Regions from separate parts of the Homo sapiens genome. Here region 1 is linked to region 2. Evidence: promoter capture Hi-C in 16 types of primary human blood cells and fetal thymus (Javierre and others, 2016). All regions are on one chromosome and are shown on one strand. Each heading gives the region's core, a stretch centred on a gene start or on the middle of the fragment in contact. The rest is flanking DNA. Distances are from core to core; before and after follow the strand shown.

Evidence for each region. The method cuts DNA at HindIII sites, captures the fragments that hold promoters and counts their contacts. A CHiCAGO score of 5 or more calls a contact.
Region 1: a fragment that was not itself captured here is called in contact with the fragment with the promoter of GUCY1B1 in region 2 in 5 of 17 cell types (fetal thymus, M2 macrophages, M0 macrophages and 2 more); the score reaches 9.8 in fetal thymus.

The regions. Positions count from the first base shown.
Region 1 is chr4:155,401,229-155,404,240 of GRCh38, forward strand. No RefSeq gene overlaps it. Among named protein-coding and RNA genes, the nearest start is that of MAP9, 26 kb to the left of the region's middle. The HindIII fragment of the contact is 3,059 bases long and covers 1-2,970 here.
Region 2 is chr4:155,757,704-155,760,548 of GRCh38, forward strand. It overlaps GUCY1B1 (guanylate cyclase 1 soluble subunit beta 1), which reads left to right and starts at 1,318. Exons shown (of 14, transcript NM_000857.5): 1 at 1,318-1,440; 2 at 2,084-2,157. The coding sequence starts at 1,438. LOC105377506 (a long non-coding RNA gene) reads right to left here and starts at 712. Exons shown (of 8, transcript XR_007058484.1): 1 at 487-712. RefSeq lists silencers at 1,496-1,645, 2,096-2,365. The HindIII fragment of the contact is 7,462 bases long and covers 1-2,845 here.

The sequences.
Region 1 (3,012 bases), core at 191-2,690, 360 kb before region 2:
AGGATGAATGAAGGGATTATTTAAGAATCCTTATTTTGGCCAGTTGCCATGGTTCGTGTCTGTAATCCTGGCATTTTTGGGAGGGTGAGGCCAAGGCCAGGAGTTTGAGACCAGTCTAAGCTACATAGCAAGACATCGTTGCCACAAAAAATTTACAAATTAGTCAGATGTGGTGGCATGCATCTGTAGTTCTAGCTACTTTGGAGGCTGAGGCAGGAGGATTGCTTGAGCCCAGGAGTCTGAGGCTGCAGTGAGCTTTGATTGCACCCCTGCACTGCAACCTGGGCAACAGAGCCAGACTCTGTCTCTTAAAAACAAAAAAAAAAGTTTCTCCACCTCTAAGGGGCAGTTCTGTAAACTTGTGGCTGACAGATCACTCAAATCCAGGCAAGTAGCTTTTAATTAATTGAACCAGGATTGGACCCAGAGCCAGCGTTCTTAACTAACCCCTGTAGTTAACTCTCAGAAAAGTCCATGTTCTAATTCCCAGAACCTGTGAATGTGTTAACTTGCATTTCAAAAGAGACTTTGCAGGTGTGATTAAATTAAAGATCTCAAAATGGGGAGATTATGGATTATCAGAGTGGGCCCAGTGTAGTCACAGGGGTCCATACAATTGGAGTACAAGAGGGTAAGAATCAGAGAGGAGGTGTGACCACGATGGAAGCAGAAGTTGGGGTGATGCAGGGTCATGGCCCTTAGAAGCTAGGAAGGAGCAGGGAACGGATTCTCCCCTAAAGCCTCTAGAAGGAGTGCATCCCTGCTCATGCATTTCAGACTTGTGGTCTCTAGAACTGTCTGGAGATGGTGTTGTAAGACAGTAAATGACTATGGCAGCAATCAGATATTCATATAACCCCTACACTATATTTTCATATACCTGACTTTTTCAGTCAAGATTCTGGTGCTCAGAATGGGAAAAACATACAACTTTATGTTAATAAGTTGTATTTCTGTTGGTGCCTCCTACACATGGCAGGGAAGCAGGATTGATTATGGCCTGTGCAATTAATATTTTAACCTAGAGAAAAAATGGGAGAAAGCAGGAAATGTAATTAGACTGTGCCAAAGAAGTGTAATTTTGACAGTTGAGTTGGAAGATGAATGGTGGTTGTGGGGAGAAGAATTTGAAAGGAGGGTAGACAAAAAAAAATCACCCAAAAAGCTGTGGCATTTGCTCAGGAGAGATATGACATGCAGATGAAATTAGGCAATATCAGTGAATATAGAGAGGAATAGATACATTTTTAAACTATGGTAAATAGTACGATTGAAGTGTGTGCCGGGTGCAGGTAAAAAAGGAAGAGGGGACAGCATGATGTCAGACTGGGACTCCCTGAGTTGGAGGTGCCTGTGATATATGGGAGTGGTTGAGGGGCTGAGATTATAAGGGGAGTGAATACAGAAGGGAGCAGAGGATAGGACCCTAGGAAGCATCTATCAAGTTATGGGCAGAGGTTGTACGTAGCACAGAAAGGCAAGAAATTGCCAGGGAAATAGGAAGAGAACCAAAGAGGAGAATGGCTCACCAATAAGGGAGTGGCTCATGCTGCCTGTTAGTCAAGTAGAGAAGCAAACTAGATTTTTCCTTAGGAGGTCACTGGGATCTGTACCATGCCTAGGTAAGAGCAGTTTCAATAGAGGGATTAGAGAGAGGTGTGCTGGATCTCACACCTACTCAGCAGAGGCCCTTGTGCACTGGAGCTCATACCTACTCAGGAGAGTCTCTTGTGCACATCCAAGCCCAGCTCTGCATTCAATGACATCAGCTTTAGATCAGTGATGGTGGAATTACTTGAAATCAGCAAATGCTACAATGCTACAAATCAGGGTGTTCCCTTCTCACATCCTTCCCCATCCCAAGAGTTAAACATTCACCAGCTTCAACTGGGAGAGAAGAAAGCTGAAGCATGACTGATTAAGTCTGCAAGTGAATGGGAGATAAGGAAGTGGGGCTGAGGGAGTTCATTATCTTTCCAGACGTGAGTGGTGAAGGGAAAGCGCACAGTACAGTCACATCTTAAGACCCAGATAGGTTTGAAAGAACATTGCTTTTTCCTGGAAATGTCCCAGACAAGATTGATTATATAGCCTCTATTGTATCACTGAAGTTTTAAGGAATCTTTACTTTTAATGGCATCTCACATATATAAAACCACATTATTGTTATGTAAGAAATTAACCCAGTGCTTTCCTTCTTTCCTGATCGATTAGCACACACTGTCTTTTTGCATCATTTCTCCCATGTGTAGCTCCTCTGTTCATCCACCTTTCTGGAATTGCTTGGCTCCTTCCTGCTTTGTACATGATCCCTTTAAGACAAATCTAGTTTCACACACGAATGCAAATATACTTTTAGGCACTTTTTTGAAGAAGGATACAAGTGGATGCCCAGTTCTCTTTGTTTGTATGTTGGATTTCTGATTAAGATTTCCTAAATAAAGGGCCCCAAACTAATGTTTGAAAAAAAGGGGGGGGGAGGGTAAACATAGTTTCAAGTTTTTTTAATCACTTATTTACACGTTACTCTTTATTCAAATTGTTCTATTTTATCTGTTATCATTATATGCATTTGTAAGATTATGAGTTTTTGTGGAATTAAAATCCAGCACTGAAGAAAGCCCAGGCATTACTTAGTGGGAATTTCTTTGTAAAAAAATAATCCCATTCAGGATTCTCAAGGGAAGTCCAGAGCCCGACTGTAGGTTAATGAGAATAAAAGAAATGATTTAGCACGTGCATACAGCTAATTTGGCGTCAGCATTGTGCTCATGTAAGGATGTAATTATTCTTTTGTCTCTTCTGGGAAGCCCAGAGTATACGTTAATAATCAAGTTCCAGAAGATGGCAGCAAAGGATTTACTATCCAGAGGAAACATGAATGTAATCATTAGTATTCTTGAGATACTTCATTTTGCTTATAGTGATTAAAAGTTACATTGAAACAAAGCTATTTACATCATTTAATAAAGCTTTTTGAATGATTAGCTTTTTCTTTATATTAGAAAGTAG
Region 2 (2,845 bases), core at 68-2,567:
TTCATGGTTGTTTAATGTGCCATTTTAATGGTTCAAAATTAGTGGTTAATTGTTGTTAAATAATGATTAATGTTTTAATAGTTGTTTAAAACAAGGTGTTAGATTGTATGAAAGGCTGTAATCTATTTACTCATTCCACCAATAATGGAAATTTTTAAAGTAATTTGTTGTTTTGTTTGTTTGCTACATGCCACTATTTCTGTATCAGTTTCCTTCATCATAGCTCTCTCGGTGCTGATGTCAGCACAATCTTATTGTTTTGACATTTTTCTCTAACCATATTGAGACTGTTCTCACAACAAAATATGCACATCTTAAAATACCATCTGGCTTCTCAGGTCCACTTGAGACTGGTGACCTCACTTTTGACCTTGCCCTAAAAGTCAACTGGAGTCCATATACCTCAGGTACAAACAGCTTTAATAAGCTGCCACTTCCTGTTCCTCTCATCTTCTCTCTATGGCAGGACTCAGAGCATTAACTAACCTAAGGGCCTGGTAGAATGTAAGCTGGAGGTAGAGTAGTTAAAGTCTGTGCATTTTGTACTGGTCATTTTCCAGTTCGTCTGTTGCTAAGAAACAGCAACAGAGGCCCGCTCTAGAGGGTTACAAACTCCCTGGAATTATGGCTCCCGGACATGGTGTAGGGAAAGGTGTCCCACAGGGATCAAGCCTAGAATATCGCTGGATCTTGTACAGTTTAGTAAAGGGCAGGACTGGATTTAACATAACGTCCACCAAACTACATTACTGAAAATTTTTGGTGCTTCACTCAACTAGTCTCATTGACTAGAAGTGAAAATATGTTTTTCTCAATATTACCAGCTTTAAATTTGCCATAAACTGTTGTGGGACCAAGCCACAGAGGAAATGTTTTTCCGCTAGACAAAGATAAGCATGAGGATGCCAGCAACAGAGGATATTCCTTTTAAGGTCTGTCCATTGCAAAGTACACACGTACACGCTCACACAACAAACACGCCCTGTTCCCTTTTGCTTGTGTTAACCACTGAGGGCAGATCTCTGAATAATAATACATTTAGTGGGTCCACAAGAGCTGCATTTCCTCTGCTCCAGAATTCATGCAAGGAGCACGGCTGGGGCTTCTCCACTGTCATTGTTATGGCCTCAAATGAAGGCCTTGTCACCAGGCGGGGGCGGGAAGGCACTGGAGCGCAGCAGCATTGAGAGCATCCGAATTCCCTCCTCTGTCCCTGATTGGTTGAAGAACTGGGGAGCACCGACCAGCCCCCTGCGGCTCGACTCGCCATTGGCTGGGAAGAGGTGGCAATCAGGGCGGGCCAAGGCGGCTGTTCTCGCTCCAGCTCGATGCTGCCTCCCCGGCCCGGTTGCGCTGTAGCCGCTGCCGCCTCTGCCTGGGTCCCTTCGGCCGTACCTCTGCGTGGGGGCTGCCTCCCCGGCTCCCGGTGCAGACACCATGGTAAGTGCTCTCAGCCGGGTGCGGCCCGAACCTCACCCCTCCTCGGCCGGCCTGGCAGCGAGGGAACTGGCCGCGCAGCCGGAGCTTGGCTCGGGGGCCCTGGGCGCTCACTGCCGGCCACGGGAGCAGCCTCACTCCTTGCCCGCGCCCAGTCAGGGGAGGTGGGAACGCCGCGAGTCGTGGCGGGGGCGATCGGTGCCTTTGCTTCCCAGGCGGGTTTGCCGCTCCACACCGCAGCTTCCTGAGCTCGGGAAGGGGAGGTGCGGCGGAGGCGTGGGGTCTTCCCGGCTCTGGCCGGCCCCACCAGTGTGGGAGGCTGAGCGCCAGCGGAAGGGAAGGCTCCGGGTTCGCGTCCCCGCGCTGCCCCCGATGCCCAGCCTCTCCCGGAGCGGTGACAGGTGAGGAGGGTGGGAAGATAGCGTGGGGGTGGGGCGGATGGTGACGGGGAGAATCCACCAGGGATTGGGGGGTTGCGCCCCCACGATCCGACTCCTTTAGTGCATAGTACCCCTAAGGGAGAGGAGTCAGGGGCGGGGTGAAAGGTTAAGCCAGCGCCATGGGAGCAGAGGCAGCAGCCTCGCCCCCAAGCCGCTTCTCAGGTACAGCGGGTCCCTGACGCTCAAGTCTCTCCCTGTCCCCGCAGTACGGATTTGTGAATCACGCCCTGGAGTTGCTGGTGATCCGCAATTACGGCCCCGAGGTGTGGGAAGACATCAAGTAAGTGGCCGGCTACCCTGGCTGTGGCCCAGGTCGGCGCCCAGTGTGGGAGGCCCCCCGCGCCTCGCCTGGTCCTCAGCCTGCTGGCCGGGTCGCGGGCGCGCATCCTTGGAGGTGCCTCCGCGCCTCGCTCCCGGCTCGCTGCAGCTGCGCTCCCACGCTCCGGGACTGGAACCAGGAGGGGAGGGGCGGCTGGGGCGGGGCTGCGAGGGCGAGAACCGCGGAAAGGAGCCCCTAGGGGTCACCACGGCTTCCCGACCCGGCCTGAGCGTGGGAACGCGCTGCCGGCGCTCCCAGGCTCAGCAGGCCGGGCAGCTCCCACGCGTGCAGAGCCCCGAGGGACCACACGGGCCTCCGCGAGGTTCCTGCGCCCGGAGGCCTTAGAAACAAACGGAAGACTTTGGCTCCTTTATGATTTACACACCTGGCGTAAGTTAGGCCTTTTTGGTATGCTGAAACACGCGGGAGATTATTTCTTGAGCAACAGTGAATTAAGCGCATTTATTCATTTTTAAATAAAGTGAAAATTGGAAGTTTTTTGTTTTCCCCAAATCCCACTGCCCACCCCCCCCGCCCCAACCCCTATCCCCCGTTTTTTTCTACTGTGTTGAAGACTTAACAGTTCTAGGAGGCATTCTACTTTCAGTCCTGGAGCTTTGAGCCCAGTACTGGGGATGTGAACGGAAAT